Regions from separate parts of the Homo sapiens genome. Here regions 2, 3 and 4 are each linked to region 1. Evidence: promoter capture Hi-C in 16 types of primary human blood cells and fetal thymus (Javierre and others, 2016). All regions are on one chromosome and are shown on one strand. Each heading gives the region's core, a stretch centred on a gene start or on the middle of the fragment in contact. The rest is flanking DNA. Distances are from core to core; before and after follow the strand shown. Region 1 holds the start of DTD2 (D-aminoacyl-tRNA deacylase 2). Region 2 overlaps ARHGAP5 (Rho GTPase activating protein 5). Region 3 has its middle 45 kb from the start of RNU6-8. Region 4 has its middle 28 kb from the start of RNU6-8.

Evidence for each region. The method cuts DNA at HindIII sites, captures the fragments that hold promoters and counts their contacts. A CHiCAGO score of 5 or more calls a contact.
Region 2: a fragment that was not itself captured here is called in contact with the fragment with the promoter of DTD2 in region 1 in 1 of 17 cell types (naive CD4 T cells); the score reaches 5.1 in naive CD4 T cells.
Region 3: a fragment that was not itself captured here is called in contact with the fragment with the promoter of DTD2 in region 1 in 5 of 17 cell types (total CD4 T cells, M1 macrophages, megakaryocytes and 2 more); the score reaches 8.4 in total CD4 T cells.
Region 4: a fragment that was not itself captured here is called in contact with the fragment with the promoter of DTD2 in region 1 in 1 of 17 cell types (naive CD8 T cells); the score reaches 5.2 in naive CD8 T cells.

The regions. Positions count from the first base shown.
Region 1 is chr14:31,455,367-31,458,865 of GRCh38, reverse strand. It overlaps DTD2 (D-aminoacyl-tRNA deacylase 2), which reads left to right and starts at 1,360. Exons shown (of 3, transcript NM_080664.3): 1 at 1,360-1,583. The coding sequence starts at 1,473. RefSeq lists enhancers at 1,196-1,375, 1,516-1,725, 1,170-1,755, 1,756-2,341. The HindIII fragment of the contact is 653 bases long and covers 1,271-1,923 here.
Region 2 is chr14:32,103,225-32,106,749 of GRCh38, reverse strand. All of the region lies in intron 2 of ARHGAP5 (Rho GTPase activating protein 5), which reads right to left. Among named protein-coding and RNA genes, the nearest start is that of ARHGAP5, 28 kb to the right of the region's middle. The HindIII fragment of the contact is 5,331 bases long and covers 1-3,525 here.
Region 3 is chr14:32,246,001-32,250,049 of GRCh38, reverse strand. No RefSeq gene overlaps it. Among named protein-coding and RNA genes, the nearest start is that of RNU6-8, 45 kb to the right of the region's middle. The HindIII fragment of the contact is 8,217 bases long and covers 1-4,049 here.
Region 4 is chr14:32,229,445-32,233,251 of GRCh38, reverse strand. No RefSeq gene overlaps it. Among named protein-coding and RNA genes, the nearest start is that of RNU6-8, 28 kb to the right of the region's middle. The HindIII fragment of the contact is 712 bases long and covers 2,079-2,790 here.

The sequences.
Region 1 (3,499 bases), core at 111-2,610:
GAGAAGCTAACCATTACCATCCATACTCCATCTATTCTACTCACAGGAAGGGTTTCCCAATTTGTTAAAGAAACCCTCTCTGTAGAAAGATCTCTGCGAACCACATAACCTATTCTCTATAGACCTCCCTATTTCCTGCAGCCACATACAAATGGACACCAAAGTCTTTTCTTATTCTGGGACATAGCTAATGGTTTGTATGTCAAAGTTTCTTTCAGGCCTGTAAAATCTGAATCTGAGAGCCGGAGAGAAAAGAGACTCAGTAGTTATAATGACATAAAGGTGCAGACATGAAGCAATTCAACTTGTCTGTGCTTTGCAGACAAATGTCAACAACTGTTGGAATCCCTGCAATGCAACAATCAGAGATCATGTGAGATTTTGCTTTCTGTTTTTACTAAAAGTGTAAACCTGGCTGCAAGATAACCAGCAAACAAGCAGCTTCGATTTTGTGTACAAAGGACTGTTGATTATGCATGGACTATTTTCTTCAGTCACACTACTTTGTATGGATAGCAACACTGTCAGTGATGTCATCTTTTTAAACAACAGATCCGAATGTATAGGCACATTGTGTCAACTGAGCCCAAATCAATGACCTGGGTAATGCAATCAGGGTAACACTATTATTCCTCATCTAAACCATCCAAGCCCATAGACAAATAAATGCTAATCTGATGCATGTTTAAGGAATACGTTACATGGGAAAGAAAATCAAGCCCTTGTTTAGTTTTATTTACATTCTAATATGTACTTCCAGAAAATGCATCACAGAATTTACGTCATATGCATCAGAATAAGCTGTTTTATTTTTGTATTAGTAGCGGGCTAAGTTATTAACAATCATACTTTCTTGGATAAGAACATTTTTAACAAGGATATCTTCTAAAGAATGTGTATTCGTATAGCATACCAATACCTTTTCACAACTGTGGAATCAGAATAATTTATGGCATTCCCGATAGAGGAGGCAGCATTGTTTTTATTGATTGGAATAAGGAAAATTTTGAAGGATGTATATATAGCTTTTAGTTCCATCTCCGCTTGCTTTATGATTCGATTATTTGTTTACTTACTTTCATATGGGCATAACATGAATTTAAATCAAGCAGATTTAAAATTTTTCAACAGTTGGAACCTAAGCTTTCTGAGGTGAAAAATGTTTCTTAAAAGGTTTGTAGGAAAGAGATTTAACGAGTCTTTTCAATCGTTTAATAAAAGTATACACTGAGCGCCTTCTACAGAGTTGGGCAGGTGCTGCCGAGAAGCTTAGCGCTACGCCGGCCTCCAAGACCGCACATCCGGGACATTCGAGAGTCAGTCCGAGGCCCCGCCCTCCTAAGGGCGGGGCCACTGGGCAATCGGCGCAGGCCCTTCGTCGTGCCCCGCCTCGTCTGCCCCGCCAGCGCGTCGAGGGAGGGGCCAGCGACACATGGCCTAGTAACTGTCCGGCCGCGGCGCTGGCTTAAGCCATGGCTGAGGGTAGCCGGATTCCTCAGGCCCGGGCGCTCCTACAGCAGTGCCTGCACGCCCGGCTGCAAATTCGCCCAGCCGATGGGGACGTCGCGGCCCAGTGGGTGGAGGTAACGTCAGCCCGGCAGCTCTCGTTATCCTCCGGCGTGCGGGGCGGTTTTTTCCGCGTTGTCTCGGTGACTCGTCCGCTCTGTGTCTCCCTCTGAGACCGGCGGTCCGGCCGCGGGGATACCGGGTCAGCTTGAAGCTGGCCGCGGTGGCCTGCCTGGCTGCGCTTGTCTTTTCGGTCCAGCATCACCGTTCCCCAGCGCCAGTTGTAGCACCCGAGAGGAAGAGCGTGTCTCCCTTCTTGGGGGGACCACAGGTATTTGAAACTGAGTTCGGTGAACTTCAGGCCTTACTGTCTCAGACCCCTTGCAGCTCGTGGTCTATGCTGGTCGGGGGCAAGCTTGTAGGTCAGGTTTGCTGCAAGAGTTCATGATCTGCTTTGACTTACGCCTCAGATCGCGTCGAATTCCCCCCTATGTTGACTTGGTCTTAGCATAGAAATGAGATTTCCTAAGAAACAATTCTATTTCAAGAAGCCTTTTAAAAGTTTTGACCAATTTCCAACTGAGAAACAAAGACCTCTACTTTTATAACAATGTTGCCTTATCAAACACATTTCTCCAAAGAATTTAAAACATTTATGTCACTATGAGTTCCTTCTACTTTCATACATACTTTACTTTTTAAGACCGCCTGCCCCCACTGCATACAAAAACAAATAAAATTTTCTTTAAGGCCTCTGACGTATTTTTGGAGTACGTTGAAATGTAAGAAAAAAATTAGTTCATAATTAAGACTTTTGTAGATACTCAGAAACTTCAGTGTAGCAAAATCTCATTCGCTCGCCTTTTCTGCTGAATTCGGTCCCAGATCTAGCATTACTTAAAACAATTTTAGTTATTATTTTACATTTATTTTATTTTTTATATTTTATTTATTTATATTTTATTTTATTTTTTGAGATGAATTCTCGATCTGTCGCCCAGGCTGGAGTGCAGTGGCACGATCTCGGCTCACTGCAACCTCCGCCTCCCGGGTTCAAGCAATTTTCCTTCCTCAGCCTCCCGAGTAGCTGGGACAACAGGCGCAAGCTACCACGCTAACTTGTATTTTTAGCAGAGACGGGGTTTCGCCATTTTGGCCAGGCTTGTCTGGAACTCCTGACCTCAGGTGATCCACCTGCCTCAGCCTCCCAAACTGCTGGGATTACAAGCCTGAGCCACCGCACCCCGCCTACTTATTGTAAATAGTACCCGTGAACTATATGATGTGTGGGTGATTATTCTAAAATCAGAATCTGTTGCCCTGTGCTAATTTGGAAATATAAGCATAGAAATTCCTGTATTCTTATCTCTCTCCTTTCCCAGAAATTCACTTTTCTTATTTCTTATTTTTGTCATGATTTTTTGTGAGGTCTTGATTTCCTTATTTGAAATTTTATTATTTTATTTTGCCATCCTATCTAAAGAATTAACCTGCCAGGCGCGGTAATCCCAGCACTTTGGGAGGCCAAGGCCGGCGGATCACTTGAGGTCAGGAGTTTGAGACCAGCCTGGCCAACATGTTGAAATCCCGTCTCTACTAAAAATACAAAAATTAGCCGGGCTTGGTGGCGGGCACCTGTAATCCCAGCTACTCGGGAGGCTGAGGCAGGAGAATCTCTTGAATCCGGGAGGCAGAGGTTGTAGTGAGCCAAGATCACGCCACTGCACTCCAGCCTGAGCCACAGAGTGAAACCTCATCTCAAAAATAAATAATAAATAAAATAATTATCCTTTTTTTTTTTTTTTTTTTGAGACAGAGTCTCACTCTGTCACCCAGGCTGGAGTGCAATGGCGCAATCTCGGCTCACTGCAACCTCCGCCTCCCGGGTTCACGCCATTCTCCTGCCTCAGCCTCCCAAGCAGCTGGGACCACAGGCGCCCACCACCACGCCTGGCTAATTTGTTGTATTTTTACTAGAGACGGAGTTTCACCG
Region 2 (3,525 bases), core at 843-3,342, 650 kb before region 1:
TATTTTGATGTACCTGGAGCTTAAGAGTACGTGTGGGAATGAATAAGGTTAAAAGGTCAGCAAAGGCCATACTGCAAATGGCTTTAGATGCCTAACTCACGTATTTGGAACTTTATACAGAGGTTACAAATACACTTTGTACGGACAGGGATCAGGCACTTCTATTTTAGCACTGCCCCCCAGAAAGCAACATAAATAACAGTTTGAAAAAAATGGTGAATGGAACACGGAAACCTAATTTAAAAAGTTGCTGCACCACAAATATTGGTGAGGATGTGGAGAAACTGGATCCATCATACATTGCCAGTAGGGATTTAAAATAGTATACCCAGGCCGAGTGCAGCGGCTCATGCCTGTAATCCCAGCACTTTGGGAGGCTGAGGCGGGTGGATCACGAGGTCAGGAGTTCAAGACCAGCCTGGCCAAGATGGTGAAAGCCCGTCTCTACTAAAAATACAAAAATTAGCCAGGTGTGGTGGTGGGCATCTGTAATCCCAGATACTCAGGAGGCTGAGGCAGAGAATTACTTGAACCTGGGAGGCAGAGGTTGCAGTGAGCTGAGATCGCGCCACTGCACTGTAGCCTGGGCAACAAAGTGAGACTCCATCTCAATAAATAAATAAATAAAATAGTATACCCATTCTGGAAAACAGTTTGGCAGTTTCTTATCCTGTATTCGAATGTTCATGACAACTTTATTCAAGATGGACAAAAACTGGAACGACCTGATGTCCTTCAACAGGTTAAAACACTGATGTATCCATATTATGGAATATTATTCAGCAATAAAAAGAACAAACTGTTGATGCACGCAACAACTTGGCTGAATCTCAAGGGCATTATGGTAAATGAAAGTCAATCCCAGAAAGTTATATGCCCTGTGATTCCATTTATATAACATCCTTGAAATGACAAAATTATAGAAATGAAAAACAGAGTAGTGGCTATCAGTGGTTAGGGATGGGTGAGGAGAAGGAAAAGCATGTAGTTATAAAAAGACAAAACAAGTTAATTTGCTAGTGGATGGAACTGTTTTACATCTTGACTATGGGAGGGACACACAAACCTATACACATGAAAAACTGCAAAGAACAAAATATACACATGTACAAATTAGTACAAGTAAAACTGGGGAAATCTGAATAAGATCTGTAGATCATATTAATGTCAACACCCTGGCTGTGATATTGTACTATAGTTTTGCAGGATATTACCATTGTGGGAAAATGGGCAAAGAGCACATGGGGTCTCTCTTTTTTTTAAAAAAAAAAACAATAGCATATGAATCAACAATTAGCTCAAAATAGAATCTTTATTTCTTTAAAAAAGGTATTTGTGATAATGCAGGTAAGAAATAATGACAACCTCAACTAGTATGAAAATGGAACGGAAGCAACACATTTTATAGCAGAATAATGAATGATAAACAGTCGAGTATGATAAATGACAATAGCATGTAGCTCTGGCCCACAGTTAACATAATCCTGAAAATATATTCTTACCCAATCACGGTGAGGCTGGGGAAGAAAACGCTATGACCTATATGGAAAACCCTACCTTTCTTATTGAACAGATACAAACATGCCTTGTATGACTGACTTCTAGAACTGCATAGACATTTTTTTCAAGACATAGTCTCCTACACCAGGGTTTCTCAACTTCAAGATTATTGGCACTTTGGGCTGTATAATCCTTTGTTGTGGAAGATGGCCTGTGAATTCTGCAATTCAGTTTAGCAATTCAATGTTTAGCAGTAACCCTGGCTTCTACCCACTAGATGCCAGCAGCAACCTCCTACTTCCAGTTGTGACACCCAAAAATGTCTCTAGACATTGCCATATGCTTCCTGGAGGGCCAAACTGACCCTGGTTGATAGCCACTGTGCTAGACTAGTAAAAACAAAGACCAATAACTCAAGTTTGGGAAATAGCTACAGATATATTTCTGAAAAGCCTGAGAATTTTAACTTTAAAAAAGGTCCATACACGACTCAAGACTGAGAAACAATACTGCAGGTTATACAAAGTTGAATGATAACCATAACTGCCCTCAGAAAGGTTATAACATAGAAAAACAAAATTAAACTACAATATAAAGTGATCAGGCAGTGAGAAGCAGCATTACATTATAGTTTAACACACTGGTGTAAGAAAGAAGCCTTCAGGGGACCCAGCACTCTAAAGGTTTATTTAATCCCTTTTTTAAGCCTATAAAAGCCGTAAGTGCTGGCTGAAAGTCCAAACACACTTCAGAAAACTTACATTGTGAAGACTCTCTCACACCCTTTATGCTAACACTAGGTGAAAAGAGGAAATAAAAAACAACAGAGTAAATAAATGTGGTCTAGGTTTTTGTACATACTTATCAGGCAAACTAATTTTAACCTTGACTCAGGAACCTTTATTCTCTAAGATAACATCTTCCTAAAAAGCATTTCAACATATATTATATATGTGGCAGATATTTTATTAATGCCATTAACAACTTAACAAAAAATAAACCTGGAGTCACTTGGAGAAAGTTCTAGCAAAGCAACTAACTATTCAAGTGAATGGGTGGATTTCTACCCAGCTTCCCCAAATTTCAGTGTCTTCCTCCTCCCTCTCATCTTATACAAGGAGTTTCTTAAACTGGGATCCACAGGCCTTTAGAAAGTATTTGAAACCGTTAAAACTCCAGTAAAATTTTGTGCATGTGCATTTTTCTAGGGAAAATACCCAAACCTTGACTCAGATTTTCAAAGGCTAAGAACAATTTCCAAAAAGTTCAAAACAATTGTTATACAATGTATGCAAGTTGTACCCTTTATTTTGACTACGATACAATCATAAGATCTCTTTTGTCATATCCTTATATTTTGTTGTAAGGATTCTAAACATCAAAAATTACTACTATTTTTAAAAAGCAACCCTCCTATGCTCTGGGGTTTCTCTTCTTTAAAAGTCACAGATTAAGCCCTATTTACTTGAGTACTCCATCCACACTTTAGCTGAGATGACAGGAAAACATTACAGAGCAAGAAATCATAACACTGCATCTACTGTAAAAAACCTCTCCTAGGATTGACACAATTTGTAGTATACAAAATTTTGGTGTACATAAATTGGCAAACCTATAAATTTACCTATAGTCTTGCAATAGTAACAACTGTCCATTAACATAAGAACACAATTATCTATGTTACAGAAGTGCCTCCTTGACACATACTTAACATTTACTATTAATCTGCTGCAGAAATGAGTAACTTCAATAATCTGTACTATGCTTTTACAAAATATTCAGTACGCTGCTATAAACACTAAGAAAAAGTTTGTATAGAAAGCCAAATTTAAATTAGCGAAAATGTATGCCACTGACATAATCTTTCCAATTAAGTCTTAACAAAATATATAAATCAGAAATATACTTTAAAAATTAACCATCTAATTACATTTCAATCTGAATTTGAAAAGCAATAAATCATGATCAAATGGACAACACAGAATTCAAAGAAATGGCAAATAGTAAAATACTGCCAGAAATACT
Region 3 (4,049 bases), core at 1,187-3,686, 790 kb before region 1:
TTTTGAGGAGGCAAGAATCGAGTTAGTGCAGACCTGTATGGATTTGCCACTGCTAACATACTTTGGTGTGTGACTCAGATATGTTCCATAGTGGTAAGACACCTCTATGCCTCACCTTTGGCTGAAGGTGTTCAACTCCCATACATGGTTTCCCTCTCCTCAGTTTCTCTCTCCTGCTTACTAAGCAACCCCCAGAACGAGTCCTCTCAGCCAAAGAGGCTCGGCTCCTCACTGAGCTGATCTCTCAGCTCACCCTGATGGGTGGCTCATGGGGGTGGGAAGGACCTTGGAGTCTGCACCAAGTAGACCTGAGACACTAAAGGCCTTCCTGAACAGGAGGCTTGCAAGAGTCATAGGGCTGAACCCTAAGACTGTGCAATGTCTGGGGTTTCCTCTGCTTTTTCAACGAAAACTGGCTCTTTTCCAAACGCCTGCACCACCTACTCTCCTGTTATCTCTGTGTATATTCTGAAATGGCCTTGTACACCTACAGGACTGTCCGCCTTAGGGGCAAGTCTGTCTCTTCTCTGTTTTCACTTCACATGACACGACTTCCTTCTCTGCCTTAAACACACACTCCCTATTATTCGTGCAGCCATAGCTCTTGCTGTGCTTGCACAGCAGTGAAGAAATGGGCTCCCTTGCAGATGTCTGTTGGCTCACTGATGGGACACACACCAGTTGGAACCCCAGCTCTGACAGCTCCTTATGATTTGCCATACGCTTGTCATTCCTATTATGCTCCAGGGCCAAGTTTTTGGTGGCTTTTCAAGCAGTTCTGCATAGGATCTCACTCTGTGGCACTTTAAGGACTCCACCTACTTGCTTTTTTGGGGGTTAGCAACCCTTTGGAATGAGGGAAAATTCTTCCTTTGCCATCTGTGAGCCCTTATCCCAAACCCCAAGTCCTTCGGAGGTTCCTCCTTTATGTCAAGAAGGTACACAAATATTGCCCTCTCAAATTCAAGGGCTGCTGTTTTTGTGAGCATATGAGGCTTTCCGTGAGTATCCCCCTTGCTTCCTCCTGCTTCCTCCTGGAGCAGAGAGATTGTCCTACCTGTTTAAGCATTTGTTCTGCAGATTACCCTGGGAGGATGAAAAACCCCAAATACAAATTTTCTTCCATTTCTCTAATCACTTCCATGCTCTCAATATACATCAAGACCTTCAAGGTCATATTCAAAGAAAGGGGAATTCAGTCCCTTGTAGTAATTTGCTGAAAAACAGGCTTCTCATCTACTAAAAAACATGGGAAATGGGATTATAAGAAAAGAGATAATCATTTTGTGCTAGAATTCTCCAAGTGAGAGTCACTGTAAGGACATGGAGACAAGGATATAGGCCAGCTCAAGGTCATAGGTACAAGAGACAAAAGTACCCATAGGACAGAGATAAAGGCTGGTCCTAGGCTATAGGCACAGAACAAATTACCATTAGAACAGAGGTGAAGTCAAGGTTAGTAGTACCTGGTAAGAATAGTTCATTCCAGAACCCCAAAGATGAATAGGGGGTCCCTATTTACTCTGCTATCTCTTCTGTTCTCAAGTGGGTAATTGTGATGAGACAGGATCAAGGTTAAGGGTACCTGGTAAGACTGGTTCATTTCAGAACCCTAAGGATGAATGGGGGATGCCCTGTTCAGGAAAGGATGACAGGGAAATAAGAGGGTATGCCTTCTTTTTCCTTTTTGTCTCCTCTGTTCTCTCTTCACAGATGGATAATCATGTCTCCATACCACAGGACACACCCCTCAGAAGCATCCGCAAGAACAGGGAAAAGTTTGACCCCCAAACGCTAAAGGTTTGGATTTATATTTTTCTGTAACACAGAAAAGGTTAATATTTTTCTATAACACAGCCTGGGTTGAATACAAGCTCCAGGACTAGGAATCTTGGCTAGCGAATGGAAGCACACATTTTAGTACAATCTATCAACTAGATTTGTTTTGCCACTAACAGGGAAAAGGGACAAAAATCCCCTATGTACAGGCCTTCATGACTCTAGAAAATAACCCTGACCTTTGTTGGGCTTATAAAATGGATCCAGGGATGATAGCAGCCATAGTCAGGCAGCCCCCTCTGGTTGGTTTGGGAGACCTTTTATAAGGTTTACCCAGGGCTCAAGCCCCAGAAGAACCAAGGACAGAGCTTAGCACAAACCCCACTGCCCCTTCTACCCTATTATATCCAAGTCTCCCAGCCCTGGTGCTCTCCCCTCCCTACCCAGGGCCATCCTCTGGACCCCACCCTCTTAAGTATGCCCCCTTCAGGAGGTTAATGACCCTAGTGTACCCACCAGAGTCCAGACTGACTGCAAGACCTGAGCCAAATTAAAATGGAACTAGGGAAGTTTCTGGAGGACCCTGACAAATACATCAAAGGGTTCCTGTAAACTGGGCTTAACATTTGAACTCACCTGGAGGGACCTCTCAGTCATACTAGGGTAAACACTGTCTAAGGGAGAACACGACTACGTTATGGAGGCAGCCCAACAATTTGTAAACACAATGTACATGACTGACTCTGGTGGCTACTCTGTGGGGTCACCACAGTTCCCCAGGTCAACCCCAATTGGGAATACAATAACCAGTGGGGTATGTGGGCAAGGAACCACATGTTTCTCTGTCTGGTAGAAGATTGAAAACTAGCAGAGCAAAGCCTGTGAACTATACTAAATTTGCCTTAATAAATCAAGGCCCTCTTGAAAACCCCACCACTTTCCTAGAGAGGCTATAAGAGGCCCTAGTGAAACATACTAACCTAGACCTAGAGACACAAGTAGGGTAACTGGTCCTAAAGGGCCGTTTCCTAACTCAAGTTTCCTAACTCAAGATATTCAGAAGAAACTCCAAAAACTAGCACTAGGCCCCAACACCCCTACACCTGACATCCTTAAAATAGCTTCCTTGGTCTTTTACAACCAGGACCAGGAGGAAAAGGAAAGGGCTCAGCAAAATGAGAGGCAAAAGGAAAAGCTCTACTGGTTGTCCTACAAGTCTGCCAGCCCTTTCCAGGTTGCACTCAGAATACTCTCCCAGGTAACTGCCATCAGTGTGGGAAGCCAGGCCACTGGAAGGCAAACTGCCCCGATGGGACAAAGGGAAGAAGCCCTGCGCGGCTTGCCCCCTCTGCCACAAGCTCTGCCACTGGAAACAGAACTGCCCTGAGGGCTGAAGGGTCCCAGGGACAGAATCTCAACCCTGATGGCCTTGAGCTAAAGGGGCCCTATGCTCTGGTCTGCTCCCGGATTGAACATCACTATTGAAGGGACAGTGCCAAGGGCTGCTTTGGACGTGGCAGGTAGTACTATAAGTTTTCTTTTGGACATGGAAGTGGCCTGCTCGGTGCTTATCTCTTTTCCTTGGCAATTATCCTCCAAATCCTCCAAATCCGCCAGGTGATGGGGGTAAATGGAGTACCCATAACCCAGAGGTTTACTCTTCCTCCATGCTGCCTATGGGGGAAAACTGTCTTTGCTCATTCATTTTTAGTGTTGCCAGAATGTCCTCTGCCCCTTTTGGGTAGAGATATTTTGCGTAGACTCAGGGCTCAGTTAATCTTTCCTCCAGGGCCAACACTCCCTTTCCAAATGCGATCTTATGCCTCAAGGAAACCACACACAAGGATGAGCTGCCCACAGACCTTCCCAATAATCCAGAGGTCCAGGCCCCAGGAATACCAGGAAACACCATAATGGCAATGCCTGTAGCAATTCAGCTTAAAGATCCTTCTAGCTATCCTTGTAGAAGTCAGCTTCCTCTTTGGCAGGAGGCCAAAGAGGGACTTTGGCTGCTGATTGAAAAATTTCTAGAACATGAATTACTACTACCCTGTAATTCACCCTGTAACATGCCTATCTTACCTTTTAAAAAGAGCAATGGAGAATACAGGATGGTCCAGGGCCTGCAAATCAAAAAAGAGGCAGTAGTCTCTATATACCCAATAGTCCCCAACCCATATGTAATTCTAGCAGAAGTCCTTCAGATGCTCAGTGGTTTTCAGTCTTAGATCTCAAACTCACTTTCTTTTGTACCCTCTGAGACCCAACTT
Region 4 (3,807 bases), core at 1,185-3,684, 770 kb before region 1:
CAGAGAGAAGAAAGGGATATGAGAAGCTTGGACCATGAAAAGTCTAAGCACACATCCAGATGATAGCAAAGCGCCTGAGAAAGAAGCTATTAGTACCAAGGCTTGCCTGCCTCTCCTTTGCTTACTCTTCCCTTCCTACATCTCCCTGAAAAGCCCATGGACTAAGTGGGGTTCCTTACTGAGACCATAACCCTCAGATTGCCTCTGTCCTCAACAGTGGAGAGAAGTCAGCCCCTCACTGCTGGCAGAAGTTAGATCCCCCTAGAATCTAAAACATCACTTAAGATCAAATCAGATTTCAGAAGTGAGAATCAATAGACTGAACCCTAGAATCAGGATTCTCTGAGTCTCAAAGCAGCTTCAGAAGAAGAGGGCAAGTGGCACCTCCAGATATGTAAGCTCTGCACTGGCAAATCTCACCTTCTCTGAGAATGAGAGTAACAGACCGACTTGGCCTGCAGAAGATGGGATGGCATACTTCCACTCTCACACACCAGGAGCATCACCATGACAGTAACACAGCTGGCTACATAAGGACAAAACATGAGAAACACCTCATACAATAAGAGATATGCAGAAAGGTGGCAGGTATGAGCCTGTGTTGGAATTTCACATGGGCAAAAGTCTCCAGCTCCTTCCAAATATATTTTTACTGACTTAATTTGGTCAGGATTTTGGTGATACAGCTTAGCAACCAGCACAAAGTAACTTCCCTATCCCTTCCTTCAATACATCCACAACTCCTAATTCAGGTCTTCTCACTCCTTCCCAGTCAGGGTAAGCTCCAGGTTTTCAGTTTCCTAAACAGGGCCTGGGCTACTGCAATGATTCTTCATGCAGTCATGATTGAACTCTTGTTTCTAGGAGACTGAAGCAGGCTTCTAATAGCCACCAGTTATCAAGTACATGTTATGTTGATAGTTTATCTCTATTTATCACTATTTACGTTGATAGGTTATCCCTATTTTACAGAGAAGGAAGTTGAAGCACAGAGAAGTTGAATAATTTCTGCCTGCAGTCACATCATTAGTAAGTAGTAGAGCAGGCTTTCAACTCAAGCGTGTCTGATCTTTAAAATAATAATGGTGGGTTCTTATATAGCATTAAGTGCCAGGCACTGGTCTAAACACTGTAAATACTAACTTACTCAATCTTCACAATAACCCTAGGAGAAAGGTACTATTTTTACCACTGCCACTATACAGATGAGAAAACTGAGGGGTAAAGTTCAGCAACTCTTTTAAAGTTGCAAAGCTAAAAACTGGCAGCACCAGAATTCAAACCCAGGCAGGCTGGTTTTAGCATCCATACAGGCCTTACCCACTGCCCATACTGCCCCCTCTTGCTCTCTGTAACTGGTTCTTTCTATAATCATTCATTCAAATATTGCTTAGGCCCCTACTATGTACCTAACACCTTACCAGGAATTGAAGAAAGATTACCAGTATTTGACAGGATACCTCCCTCAGAGAGCAGTAATCTAGATGGGCAAAACCAGTGAAAGAATATAAGAAGGCTGTTACTAAAATGTGAGGTGAGGCAATGCATGCTAGGGTACCAGGAGGACTTGAGCACTGGCACAGACAGGAGGGCCTCACAGAGCACTGAAGGTGAGTTTCCAGTAGGGAGAATAACATGTGAGCAAAGATGAAAGTGAAGAGAAGGACTGCAGGAGGAAGGAGGTAACCCCTTCCCATGCCAGGCTCTGCATTCCTGTTTCACATGTATTATGTATCTCATTTAGTCCTCCTGCAGGCCTATGAAACATCCTTAAAAAAGAAAATGAGGTGCAGAAATTCCAGCAATTCATACATGATCACACAACAACCAAGTGACAGAGCTAGGTTTGTCTGCCTCCGACACCCTTTCTCTAAACCTGGAACCTTTTCACACAAGCAAATGCCAACCGATGAGGCCAGGGTAATAGGCAAACGTTGACAGGGCCAGGAAGAATCTAACCATTCTGATTTCTAGAACCCTTAATGGGCTCTTTGTCTTTCTTCCATTCCCCAGAGGAGGAGTACCTGCATTTTCAACTTAGAAATCTCCTCCTACGGTGTTCCCACTGCAAATAAGCTTCCTCTCTACAGACTGACAAATAGTGATTTGCCTATTTGCAGCCCTCTAAAGCCAGCCAAGCCAACCAGAGAATGGGCCTGGCTAAAGCAGGCTCTGGCTCGTGGATCCAGTTGGTGAGGGGATACAGGCCAGGCTTAGGGAAACTCAAGGATCCCCTAATACAGCTCCTTTCCCTCCTAACAGGGAAAAACTGAGGCCCAGAGAAGGGCATGAGTCACTCAAGGCTGTACATTCCCCTATCCCCAACACACACAAAAAAATTCTTAACCCCATAAAAGTGCTTTGGCAAGCAGGGATCTGAAATTCCTGCAACAGCTTGGGGAGGAGGTAACTAAGAATCTGCCTTCCCACATAGTCTGTCTTTAGACTCCAGTGCTGCTAAGAGTAACAAGTACAAATCTGTTTACTTAGCAAGGTTGAGGCTTGACTCAAATTTTGTGTTGTCAGGATGGGGATGGGGGTGGAAGGGCATCTAAATGTGAATCATTAGATCTTAATCAGCAACGTGGGGAGTGGGATGTTTTGGGAAAGTGTACCTTCTTGAGCACCTTGGACTTGCTTTATTCCCTCTCCAAGGAAAGTAGGCCTGATGGTACAGCAACCCCTTGCAGCCTCTTATAAGAGGCTCATAGTACTCATCACTGCCTATAACAGAAATATAGATGTTGTGATGCTTCTGCCTGTACCCTTAGGTGGCCCTCTAAACAAGCTTTAAGTAGTACACCTAACTGCAGCAAAGGAGAATCTGCTGGTCAAAGAGCAAAAGCAGCACCTATTACTTCATTGTCAGAGTGTTTAAAATGTGTATCAAGGTCATTACTCATCAAATTTTCCCTCTGGGAACAGATAAAGTCCGTTGTTCTTTCTAAGGCCAAACGACTGTGTGCTGCCTGCCATTAATATTTCCTGTCACTCTTCAATTCCATTTTCACTAATCATCACATTAGACCATAGCCAAAAGACGTAACTTTAAAAAAATGTGCTTACCTTAATGTGCTCAGAGTATTTATAGGTCAATTTCCCTGCTGGTTACTATTAGCATAGTTTTATAATGTATAAAGAGTATTTCTTCTCATTCTCTTTAACATTAGGTAAAATCCTCAGAGGGAGCAGAACCTAGATATGTTTAAATAAAACAGACCAATGACCTAGGGCTATAGCATTCACACAGCAGTGGTTTGATATGCTTTTTCCCCCCCCTATTCTAGGACTTACTGACCAAAAGCACACTGAATTATTTAGGAACCTAGAGACTGGATGACCCAAAGGTGAGGAAGGTGGACCTTTCCCTCTGTCTTTAAATTCTCTATTCCCCAAGTATGCCTCTCTGTGTTTGCCTTCTAGCTCTCTGGCTACTCACAGTTAGGTTTATTTTGTACCTCCCTTTCTGCCAAGACAATAAATGTTGGTATTTCCTTGAAAAAATGCATCTACTCCCATATCTATTCCCATATCTACATCATAAACTCCCAAATTTGTACTTCAATTGATAGCTCTCTTCAGAACTTCAGGTCCATTCATCCAACTGCCACCTACACATCTCTAGGATGTCCCACAAGCTCCTCAAACTCCAACTGTAGAAAACTGAACCCACTGTTTTCTCTACCACCTTTCCTCACCCATTTCTTTCTATGGTCCCTGTCTTATTGATGGCACCACACTCCATCACTGCCCAAATCAAAGACCTGGGAATCATGCTTCACCCTTTGCTCCTCCTCACCCAAACTT